Regions from separate parts of the Homo sapiens genome. Here region 1 is linked to region 2. The links are contacts of gene promoters, found by promoter capture Hi-C in human tissues and cell types (Jung and others, 2019). All regions are on one chromosome and are shown on one strand. Each heading gives the region's core, a stretch centred on a gene start or on the middle of the fragment in contact. The rest is flanking DNA. Distances are from core to core; before and after follow the strand shown.

Region 1 (6,631 bases), core at 3,851-6,350, 99 kb before region 2:
ATCATTAAAATGGCTAGACTGCCCAAAGCTATCTACAGATTCAATGCTATTCCTATCAAACTACCAATGTCATTTTTCACAGAATAAGGAAAAACTATTCTAAAATTCGTTTGAAACCAAAGAAGAGCCCAAGTAGCCAAAGCAATACAGAAGCCAGAAATAAAGCCACACACCTATAGCCATCTGATCTTCAACAAAGTTGACAAAAATAATCAATCAGGAAAGGACTCTCTATTCAGTAAATTGAACTAGGATAACTGGCTAGCCATACGCAGAATAAAACTGGAACACTTCCTTGCACCATATACAAAAATTAACTCGAAATGGATTAATGATCTAAGTTTAAAACATCAAACTAACAATCCTATAGAAAAAAATATATGTAATACCATTCTGGATACAGGCTTTTGCAAAGAATTTATGAATAATCCCTCAAAAGCAATTGGAACCAAAATGAATATTGACAAGTGGGACCTAATTAAAGTAAAGAGCTTCTGCACAGCAAGACAGAGTATCAACACAATAAACAGACAACCTACAGAATGGGGACAAAATATTTGCAAACTGTGATTCTAACAATGGTCCAATAGCGAGAATCTATAAGGTACTTAGACAATTCAACAAGTTAAAAAACAAATAACTTCATTAAAAAGTGGGCAAAGAACATATGTCCTTCCAAAGAAGACATACACATGGCCAACAAGCATATGACAAAATGCTGAACATCACTTATCATCAGAGAAATGCAAATCAAAACCACAATGAGATATCATCTCATACCAGTCAGAATGGATATGATTAAAAAGCCAAAAAATAACAGATGTTGGTAAGGCTGCAGAAAAAAGGGAAAACTTATACACTACTGGTGGAAATGTAAGTTAGTTCAGCCACTATGGAAAGCAGTTTGGAAATTTCTCAAAGAACTAAAAACAAAATTATCATTTGATGCAGCAATTCCACTACTGGGTACATATCCAGTGGAAAACAAATTGTTATACCAAAAAGACACATGTGCTCATATGTCCATCTCTGCACTATTCACAATAGCAAAGACACAGAAGCAACCAATGGTGTGTGGCATAAAGAAAATGTGGTATATATACACTATGAAATGCTATGCAGCCATAAAAAAAATCATGTCTTTGCAGCAACATAGATGCAGCTGGAGGCCATTGTCTTGAGAGAATTAATGCAGCAACAGAAAATCAAATGCCACGTGTTCTCATATAAAAGTGGGACACAAAGATGGAAACAATACACACTGGGAATTACTATAGATGGTAGAGAGATATAAAGGCAAGAGCTGAAAAACTACCTATTGGGTACTATTCTCACTACCTGGGTGATGAAATTATTTGTACCCTAAACTTCAGCATCACACAATAAACCCATGTAACAAACTTGAACATGCACTTCCTGAATCTAAAATAAAAGTTGAAAATTTTTTTAAAAAGAAAGTATTTCATATGGTATCATTTTAAAATCAGGCAAGCAATGATCATAACTAAATACAAAATTTAAGGTAAACTTGCCTTTCAAACTAAACCAGACCCTTGCAAAAGAGGAAAAAAGAATATCTAATACCTAAATAAATTGAAAACTCTTCAATGTTCCAGGATTGGAAGACTTAATATTGTTAAGATGGCAATACTCCTCAAAGTGATCTAAAAATTCTATGCAATCCCTACCAAAATACCCGTGACCTTTTTCCAGAAATGGGAAAGTTGATTGTCCAATTCATATGCAACTACATGGTGATGAAGCAGCTACATTACCTGGGATATATACCCTCAGGTTTGTCATCGTACCCCAGGAAAATTTAGGACATGGACACATCTGAGTGGGTTAAGGAGCAGGTAGTTTAATAACAGAAGAAAGGAGAAAAAGAGCAGCTTCTTGTGAGAGAGAGAGAGAGAGACATCCAAAGAGGGGGAAGGAGGCGGACCACAGCAGATTTTATAGGCAGGCCGGAAAAGGCAGTGTCTGATTTATATAGGGCCCAAAGATTGGCTCAATCAGGTGTGGCATTTACATAGTGGGCAGGGAAGGCTGGCCAACCCACTCTAATGTTATTATGCAAATGGACTTTCCACTTGACCAGCGCCATCTTGTCTGCTCCTTACTGTACATGTGGCTGGCAAAGGGAAGGGAAGATAGAGCTGCCATTTTGAACATGCCTAGTCACAGGTAGTTCTTTCCTATCAGCATTCACCGGGCAGGCTTCCAGCTTGCTTGTCTATGACTGCAGCTCGATTTTACGCGATGCTCTTTGCCAGACAATGATTTAGGGTTGCTTTTCATTAAAAAGAAAAACCTTACTGAGAATTCCCAAATGCTTACTCTCTGCCTAAGTAATTTCTTCTTAATTTCTGTATCAGTGAGTTCTCAGTTTCTGACTTCAAAACTTACTACAAAGTATAATAATCAAAAGTGTGGTACTAGCATAAAGATAGACATCAAGACCAATGGAATAAAACTGAAATCAAGAAATAAACCTAAACATCTGTGGCCAATTTACTTTCATCAAGGGTGCCTAGACCATTCAGTCCGAGGAAAGAATCTCTTCAACAAATGGTGATGAGTCAATTGGATGACAAAATACAAAAGAATGTAGCTGGGACCTACCCTACCTCACTCCAAATGAAAAATATAACTGAAAAATGGACGGAAAAACTTAAATATAAGGGCTAAAACTATAAAACTCTTAGAATAAAATGTAGGGGTAAATCTTCATGACTTCATATTTGGCAATAGGTTCATAAATTTGATACCAGAGGAGCAAAAGAAAAAATAGATAAACCAAACTTCATCAAAATTAAACTTTGTGCATCAAAAATATAATTAGGAATGTGAAATGACAACCAACAGAATGGGAGGAAATATTTTCATATTATGTATATGTAAGAGTTTAATGTTTTGAAAACATAAACAATTCTAATAGCTTAAAAAGAAAAATAAAGGCAACTTAATTTAAATAGGAAATGGACTTGAATAACATTTCTCCAAAGAAGATATACAAATGGGTAACAGTATATTAAAAGAAGTTCAAAATCACTGGTCATTAAATACAAGTTAAAACCACAATGAGAGCTGGGCATGGTGGCTCACACCTGTAATCCCAGCACTTAGGGATGCCAAGGTGGGCAGATCACCTGAGGTCAAGAGTTCGAGACCAGCCTGGCCAACATGGTGAAACCCTATCTCTACCAAAAATATAAAAATTAGTCAGGTATGGTGGCACATTCCTGTAATCCCAGCTACTCTGAAGGCTGGGGCAGGAGAATTGCTTGAATGAGATCATGCTACTGCACTCGAGCCTAGGCAACAGAGTGAGACTCTGTCTCAAAATAAATAAATAAATAAATAAATAATGAGATACCACTTTACATTCACTAGGAGGGCTTTAATAAACACAGAAAATTACAAGTATTAGCAACTATGTGGAGAAACAGAAATCCTTCTACATTGCTGGAAGGAATATAAAATGCCACATTCACTGTAGAAAAATTTGGCTCTTATACAAGAAGATAAACATAAAATTACCATTTGACCCAGCAAATCAACTCCTGAGAATACACCCAAGAATGATGAAAACATGCCCATAAAGAAACATACACAAATGGTTAAAGAAAGATTATCTATAAGAGCCAAAAGTTGGAAACAATGCAAATGTCCACAAACAGATGAATAACAATTTGTGATAAATGTGCATAGAAAATAAAATATACTTTATCCACAAAAAGAATGAAGTACAGATATATGCTACAACTTAGATGAGCCTCCAAAACATTGTAAGTGTAAGGACCCAGAAATAAAAGGTTGCATATGCTATGAATTCTTTATATATCCATAACACGCAAACCCATAGAGACAGAAAAAAGATTAGAGGTTATTACATGATGGAGTGGGGGAATGGAGTGATTATTTAGCGAATATAATACGTTTTTGTGGCGTGATAAAAACATTTTGAAACCAGAGAAAGCTGATGGTTGCACAACATTGTGAATACATTAAATACCACTTAGGTGTATGCTTTAAACTGGTTAATTGTATGTTGTGTGAATTTTACTTCAATTTTTAAAATGGCATAACTCCCTGTTCTACAGATTTAATGCAATCCTGTCAAAATTCCCATTGGCTCCTTTGAAGAAATTGACAAGTTGATCCTAAATTTCATATGAAGATTCAAGGGACCCAGAATAGTGAAAACAGTATTGAAAAAGAACAACAAAAGACTCACACTCCTTGATTTAATAAGTTGATATTAATACAAAGGTACAGTAATTAAGACTTCAAGATGGTGTACTATAGGCATTAGGACAGACACATAGATCAATGGAGTAGAATTGAGAGCCCCCCAAAAAAAACCCTTCACACATTTATAGTCAATTGGGTTTTGACAAGGTTGTCAAGACAATTCAATAGGAGGAAAAAATAGCCTCTTCAAAAATGGTGCAATGACAAAAGAGGTGATGTTTACACGGTATCTGATAGATACCAAATTCCAATTCTTATCTGTACAAATCATTTTAGTTTACACTCAATGAAGCCTTCCCTCTTCCATCCACCTACTCTTTTCCATCACACACCTCTACACCTCCATGTAAAGCATTCCAACCCATCTGAAACCCCTCTTCTGACTCTCACTGCAAATATTTTAAGGCCTATTTCAATCTGCAGGAATGCAGGAAACCCACCTAGGTTAAACCATTCTTTCCCATTCTCCAATAAACTGTGTGCAATAATGATGCCCATTTTCATCCTATGACATAATATTTTATATTTTCTAACTTGTTCATAATTGCTTCCATTTCACCTAAAACCTGCATTTTGTTTCCCCTTGGGTAGATTTTTGTTATTGTTATTATTATTATACTTTAAGTTCTGGGATACATGTGCAGAACGTGCAGGATTGTTAAATAGGTACACACGTGCCATGGTGGTCTCCTGCACCTATGAACTTGTCATCTACATTAGGTATTTCTCTTAATGTTATCCCTCCCCAAGCCCTCCACCCCTTGACAGGCCCCAGTGTGTGATGTTCCTCATCCTGTGTCTATGTGTTCTCATTGTTCAACTGCCACTTATGAGTGAGAACATACGGTGTTTGGTTTTCTGTTCCTGTGTTAGTTTACTGAGAGTGGGGGCTTCCAGCTTCATCTATGTCCCTGCAGAGGACATGAATTCATCTTTTTTATGCCTCCATAGTATTTTATGGTGTATATGTGCCACATTTTCTTAATCCAGTCTGTCATTGATGTACATTTGGGTTGATTCCAAGTCTTGGCTATTGTGAATAGTGGCACAATAAACAAATGTGTACATGTGTCTTTATAATAGAATAATTTATAATCCTTTGGATATATATCCAGTAATTGGATTGCTGGGTCAAATGGTATTTCTAGTTCTAGATCCTTGAGGAATTGCCACACTGCCTTCCACAATGATTGAACTAATTTACGCTCCCACAAACAGAGTAAAAACATTTCTATTTTTCCACATCCTCTTCAGCATCTGTTATATCCTGACTTTTTAATGATCGCCATTCTAACTGGCATGAGATGGTATCTCATTGTTGTTTTTATTTGCATTTCTCCAATGACTTCTTTTGAAAAGTGTCTGTTCATATCCTTCACTCACTTTTTGATGGAGATGTTTTTTATTTTCTTTTAAATTTAAGTTCCTCCTGTGCTGATCTCACTGGAAGCTGCAGAACAGAGCTTTTCCTATCCTGACATCCTTATTGTTCAGATAGATTATATTTATCTAAACAATTTCTTCTATGTATTCTAATTATTTAACAATTTAATTTTACATTTTCTATGATGCTTACTGGATATTCATGCATACAATAAAAACTTAAATATGCTTCTCAAGCATTACTCCTTGACCTGTTAAACATCCGTAGTAAACACAAAACTAGTCAATGAATCACAAATACGCAAGCAGTCACATAACTAAGCTTTTGTTAACATTTTACCTTCTCCATTTTGATCAGGAAGCAATCAATAAAGTCCCGAGGGTTGTTGATGTCCATCGATTCTTGGTGTTCTTTTACTTTCTCCAAAATATCACTTTCCATAAAAGCAAGGTTTTTAAGTAATTTGTTATGGGTTCCCGGGAAATAATCAATGATAGTGGGAAAATTATTGCATATCTAAGAGAAAACAATAATTTATTAAATTAAAAGCATTTAATAAAGGTATAGATACAATATGCCAAGCTCTGGTTGTAATTTAAAACTATAAATATAAATAAAATATATTGTATATCTTGATGGGGAAATTTTTATTGTACATGTGTAGTAATTCTCTGATTATACAAGATTTGAGAAAGAAAATTCTGACAAGAGAATCAAAGATGATAATCATTTCCTAGACTTATACCTGCTTTTGATAGTATAAAAGCATCTTTATATTAATTCTCTTACTTTTTACAACAATTCTTCTCTACAATCTTGAAATATAAGATGGTATGAATTACTACATTAACATTTTGGAGATGATAGCATAGGTTAAAAGAGTTTGCACAACCTGATTGATACTACAAAGATAGTCCCTGCTATATTGATTTCTATCAAGCAGCCTCTGAAATTGAATTAGTATTTTAGAAGTGGGAGGGGCTCAAAGAT
Region 2 (6,553 bases), core at 3,685-6,184:
ACAACAAGCATAGGTGCACAAAACCTCCCTTGGCTCTCTGCTTCAAACCTCCACCCTCCATATGAGGACTGACAACCACTATCATGAAAGATCTGGCTGCCCCTAGGAGGTTTCCAGGGATGTCATTAGAGAACATAGCAGTGTGTTAATGTCAAAGTATTGCGTATTTCAAGATAGCTAGAACACAGGTCTGTTCTCAAAATATAGAAATGATAAATGCTCAAAGTGATGCATATCCTAAACACCTAACTTGATCATTACACATTCTGTGCATGTAACAAAATATTACATGTACCCCATAAATATGCATAAAAGTTATGTATCAATCTAAAAATAAATTAAAATAAATTTTAGAAAACATTTTTCAGGAAAAAAAAAAGTCACCCACCATTGGTTTTTCTCAACTCCTCCACAAGGCAGCGGGCTTCCTCTTGAACACGGTCCTCGATGCTCCTCTTCCCCATCCCAAAATTCCGCAGAGTCATGAGGCAGAAACGCCGGATCTCCTTCCATCTCTTTCCATTGCTGAAAAGGATTCCTAGCAGAACAGAAAACAGAAGCTACGAGGGAGAATCCAAACAAGGACAAGAGAGCTGACACTCGGCAGCCACGTGGACAGGTCAAGTTCTGTCCCAGGAGCTCTTCAAGCCTGTTTTCCATCCTCCCCATCCCTATAGCCACTGCCCAGTACATACACATGTACACATACACACGATACATGCACATTTACCAAGTCCTTTGTTAACTTTTTCAGCCACTGGAAAACTTCCTCTTCCAGAAAACTCCTCTCCATGATCAATCAGGGCCTCCTTCACTGCTTCATATCCATGCAACACCACAATGGGCTTCAGGCCAAAATACACAGTGAACACAGGGCCATAGACTTTTGAGAACTAAACATAGAAAAGGAGGTTCAAATAGTAGCAAAACTCAGTATTTGGTCTATATATTGTCCGTGATTCAGACTGATATTATCATCATAATGTTGTTATGATTATTCTGTCAAATACAGCTTCAAATATTTGTATATTTTAGACAAAGATGATGATTATTGTTTTAGCTGCACATATACAGTGCCTTCAATGTGCCAAGCAAGTAGTATGCAGGCTATTAAACTTAATCATCACATCAACACCTTGTTTACTCTATTTTACAGATAAGACAGATTGTATTTTAAAGAATTTCAAATTCACTGCCAGTGTCCCACAGCTGATAAACAGAAGGTCCAAATTTGAAGCCTGCTTAGTCAAGCTGTGAGCCTGAGCAGTTTATCAGTTCCTAATGTCCATATTTTGACCAATAATCAGCTGCTGGGACACTGCTTCAGGATCTCCTGCAAAGCTCATCCCATAGGGATCCTGATGCAGGAGTCCTGTCATCAATACTAAAAAATCTACACCTTTTTAAATCACCCAAATGATTCTACTGCCCAGCCCACTTTGAGATCCACTGGTATAATCACCACAGAAGGAGAGTGGATCCAACAGAGATAGTATCAGGATGTGTGGCATCTCACAGAGGAAAAATGTTTTCCATGCTATACACTCATAGGTCACAGACAGCAGCTTTGTACAGAGGCCATAAATATTCTGTTACCACCCAGATGGCCCTGACTAATTAATTCTTTCTTTCATTCGTTTATGTTTATGATGAACTCATAGATATTTCTTTGACATCAGGCATGATTTGCTTTTTTAAGACGTTTAATGATCATGGCTAATCTAAGCAAAATACATAGCATATACAGTGACTGACTTCTCAAAATCTTTAATCACAAAACACTTCCACTACCATTTTCCTTCAGGCAAAAAAATATAGCAAATGACTGTGAAGCAAAGAAAGCAGCAGGCCTTTATCATTTTGATTCTACCTTACCACTTGAAATGTTTCTCTTCTGGCAAAATGCATTATTTTATTCCACTATTTCTGACAATGACAAAAAAGAAAAACATACTCCACAGGAAGTATTTGCTTTACAATAGCATACTTTAATAATCAGCCTCTGCTGGTACAGGAGGAATGCTGAGGAATGTTCCTATAACATATAACCTTTAATAACTGGCCTCCAGTAATACAGAAGTTTCTATGTGACATTAACGGTTATATGTGGCAAGCCCACAGCTAACATCATATTTAATGGTGAAAAGCTAAAAGCTTTTCCTCTAAGATCAGAAATAAGAGAAGAATGCCCCCTCTGACCATTTCTGTTCAACAGAGTACTGGAAGTCCTAGTCAGAGCAATTAGACTAAAGACAGAAAATATTCATATAGGAATATTCGTATAGGAAAGGATGTATTCATGTAGGAAAGGATGAAGTGAAATTGTCTGTTTCCTGATGAAATAATCTTATATGTAGAAAATCTAAAGACTTCAGTACAAAAGTGCTAGAACTGATAAACAAATTCAGTAAACTTGAAGGATAAAAAATCAACATGCAAAAATCAGTGGCATTTTTATACACTAGCAACAAAATATCTAAAAAAGAAATTAAGAGAACAATTAATTTATAGTAGCATCAAAAAATAAAATACTTATGAATAAATTTAATCAAGGAAGAGAAAGATCTATATACTGAAAACTACAAATCATTGATGAAAGAAATTGAAGATGACACAAATAAAGGCAAAGATATCCCATGTTCATGGATTGGAAAAACTAATAGTGGAAAAATGTCCATATTACCCAAAGCAATATACAGATTCAGTGCAATCCCTATCAAAATTTTAATCTCATTCTTCACAGAAATAGAAAAAAAATCTTAAAATTTGTATGGAACCACAAAAGACCCCAAATAACTAAAGCAAATTAATCAAAAAGAATAAAGCTGGAGGCATCACACCACTGAACTGCAAAATATGTTACAAAGCTATAGTAAGCAAAACTGCATAGCATTAGCATAAAAATAGACACACTGATTAAAGGAAAAGCGTAGAGAACCCTGAAATAAGCCCACACATCTATAATCAATTGATTTTTGACAAAGGTGCCAAGAACATACAATGGGGAAAGCACTCTTCAGCAAAAGGTGTTGGGAAAACTGGATATTCATATGCAAAGAATAAAAGAGAATCCTAATCTCACCCTTATACAAGAATTAACTCAAAATGAATTAAAGCCTTAAGCATAAGACCTGAAACTAAAAACTACTGAAAGAAACCATATAGAAAAACTCCATGACATTGGTCTAGGCAATGATTTCTTGGATATGATCCTAAAAGTACAGGCCATGAAAGCAAAACTAGACAAATGAGATTCTGACCACCCAAAATACTTAGAAACTCAAATTACTCAATAACAAATAAATAATTCTATTTAAAACGAGCAAAGGGGTCAAGTGCAATGGCTCATGTCTGTAATTCCAGCACTTTGAGAGACAAAGGTGGGTGGATTGCTTGAGCCCAAGAGTTCAAGACCAGCCTGGACAACATAATGAGACCACATCTCTACAAAGCATTAAAAAATTATCCAGGCATGGTGGCATACACCTGTAGCCCCAGCTACTTGGGGGTCTAAGGTAGAAGGATGGCTTGAGCCCAGGAGCTCAAGGCTGCAGGGACCATGATCCCATCACTACACTCCATCCTACAACAGAGCAAAACCCTGTCTCTATTAATTAATTAATTAATTAATTAATTAAATGGGCAAAGGATTTGAGTAGACATTTTTCAAAAAAAGACATACAAATGGCCAAGATATATTTTTTAAATACTCAACAAATTTAATCATCAGAGAAATGCAAATTAAAACCACAATGAGATAACTCATCACAACTCATAGATAAGATATTATTATTATCAAAAAGATAAAAAGATAACAAGTGTTGACAAAGATGTGGAATAAAGTGAACCTTGGGTATGTAAATTAGCATTGTGATTTGAGAAAACAGTATGGATGTTCCTAAAAAAAACAAAAATAGAACTATCAGATGATCCAGCAATCCCACTACCAGTATATACCCAAAGGAATTGAAGTCAGTATGTGGAAGACATGTCTGTACTTCCATGTTTATTGCAGTGCTATTGACAATAGCCAAGATATGGAAACAACCTAAGTGTTCATCAATAAATTAATGGATTTTGTATGTGACATATATGTACAATGAAATGCTATTCAGCCTTTTAAAGAGGAAAAAATATTCTTATTTATGACGGCATGGATGAATCTACAGAACATCATATTAATTAAATAAGCCAGGCAGAGAGAGGCAAATATCATATATGATCTCACTTCTATGTGGAATCTTAAAAAGTTAAACTCAGAGAAGTAGAGATTAGAATGGTGGCTACCAGAGGCTGGCAGGTGGAGATGGGCCAAATAAGGGGATACGTTGGTCAACAGGTACAGAGTTACACTTAGATAGGAGGAATAAGCTCGGGTGTTCTATTGGACAGCAAGGTGACTATAATTAATATTAATGTACTGTATATTTCAAAACAGCTAAAAAAGAGGATTTTAAATGTTCTCACTACAAAGAAATGACAAATATTTGAGATGATGGATATGCTAATTACCCTGATATGATCAATTCACAATCTATACATGTATCAAAATGTAATATTGTACCCCATTAATATATACAATTATCATTTATCACTTTAAAATGAAATAAAACTTTAAGAATTGTGAGGTTAAATACACCTTGTACATTACTGGAGGAACATAAAGCATACTTACATTGGTTAAGGATTTGCTCATGTCCTTAACATCTAACTGCAGGATATTTCCAATAATCGGGAGAGGAGTGGGGCCAGACGGGAGCCTCCCTCTTCCAGAGCTCTGCCTCCAGAGTGAAAGGAGAAACAAACAGGAGAGACAGAGCACCAGAGCCACAGCTGGATCCATTGAAGGCTTCTCTTCTTAGTAAGACAACTGCGGGCTTTCACTTCAAGGCTTTTATAACACTCCCTACTAATCCACCTGTGATTCTGACTCTGACTGTGACTAGTCAGCAAAAAGCACTTTAATCTCTCTTTTGAATGAACATTGGCTCACTGAAGAAGATAAAAATAAGGTGTTCTTTTTTCTTGTTCTTTCCGGTGCCCCACCCTGGAGATTCTGGTTTAACTAGTCTGAAGCAGAGCCCAGGATTTTGTTGTTGTTGTTGTTGTTTTTCCTTGAGATGGAGTTTCGCTCTTGTTGCCCAGGCTGGAGTGCAATGGCAAGATCTCAACTCACTGCAGCCTCCACTTCCTGGATTCGAACGATTCTGCCTCAGCTTCTGGCGTGGCTGGGATTACAGGAATGCACAACTACGCCCAGGTGATTTTGTATTTTTAGCAGAGACAGGGTTTCACCATGTTGGCCAGGCTGGTCTCCCTAAGTGCTGGGATTACAGGCATGAGCCACCGTGCCTGGCTAGGCCTAGGTTTTTTCAAACAGCCCAGGTGGTTCCACTGTGCAGCCAAAATTGAGAAACAATGAAATAAATTATTTCATCAAAAAATTATTCAAAATTTTGGATTTTTAGATTGATGAGCAGTTGGAAATATGACTTTGAGGGCAATCTGTGTATTATATTCCTTGTACATAAAATAATGTTTATCCTATTGAGAGGAGTTAGCCAGCTTGCATTAGGCAGGCAGTAAGGGAAGGGTCCCCAGAGAACCTCCAACCCTTCCAGGTCATTGCCCAATCCACAAAAACCCCAAGTACTTACACTAGATGTTTTGTGCAGATAAGGGAACTTGCACAGGGAGCTTGCCTAAATATGCCCACAGTGAAAAATTCCTACCTTTAACACATGCGCAGGAAGGGAAATAAATCAATATGGAGTGGCTTAGACTAAGAGCCCACACGCGCAATGGAAGGAAGGGGTGGAAACACCAGGAATTCACGCCTTATGCAAATAAGTATCCCAGCCTCATCAGCTTTTCTATAAAAGTCCTGGTATTCAACTGTGAAGTGGCAATCTGCAACCTGCTTTCAGGGCCTCTCTCTTTGCTGAGAGTTTTCCTTTCACTTAATAAATTCTACTCCACTCACTCTCCAGTGTCTGTGTGCCTAATTCTTCCTGCATAAGACAACTCGGACCTAGCTGAGCTAAGGATCTGCAAGACTGCAACACTATAATGCTTTCTCAAACACTAGATCATTTTCCTTGAAAATGAGATCCTTTTGAAATATTTTAATGTAGTACTAACATTACAGCTGCCTAAACATAAAGCAGCTAACAAACTCATTCATCTTAAATGGCTAAACCGGTTATCAATTAACTAAGTAAACATACACACCTTTTTCCATTAAACCCCGTGAAAAACACTGGACGGCTGAGAATATTATTTCATATTTTCCAAATGGGGAAAGGGAGACTCTAGGAGAACAGATGACCTGTCCAGTGTCCCACAGCTCATAAATGGCAGGCTGGGATTTGAACTGAGATCTTCTGACGCCCGCTGTGGTATATTCTCACTTACACCAGAGCTGCCTTGAGAACAGTTTTAGCAAAATAAAATAAATCCTAAAAACATTTCTCACTCTGAATCTACACCACACTGTTCACAAAATAACAGGGTTGTACATTCTCAAGAGAAGAAATAAAAGCTAGGGTTTCTC

The links. The method cuts DNA at HindIII sites, captures the fragments that hold promoters and counts their contacts. A contact is called where the count stands out against the background at its distance.
Region 1: a fragment that was not itself captured here is called in contact with the fragment with the promoter of CYP2C18 in region 2 in 4 of the 25 tissues and cell types used here (H1 embryonic stem cells, liver, spleen and 1 more).

What each region holds. Positions count from the first base shown.
Region 1 is chr10:94,781,347-94,787,977 of GRCh38, reverse strand. It overlaps CYP2C19 (cytochrome P450 family 2 subfamily C member 19), which reads right to left. Exons shown (of 9, transcript NM_000769.4): 5 at 5,981-6,157. Among named protein-coding and RNA genes, the nearest start is that of CYP2C19, 22 kb to the right of the region's middle. The HindIII fragment of the contact is 7,000 bases long and covers 1,601-6,631 here.
Region 2 is chr10:94,682,110-94,688,662 of GRCh38, reverse strand. CYP2C18 (cytochrome P450 family 2 subfamily C member 18) reads right to left here and starts at 4,934. Exons shown (of 9, transcript NM_000772.3): 1 at 4,676-4,934; 2 at 731-893; 3 at 389-538. The coding sequence starts at 4,843. The HindIII fragment of the contact is 11,159 bases long and covers 2-6,553 here.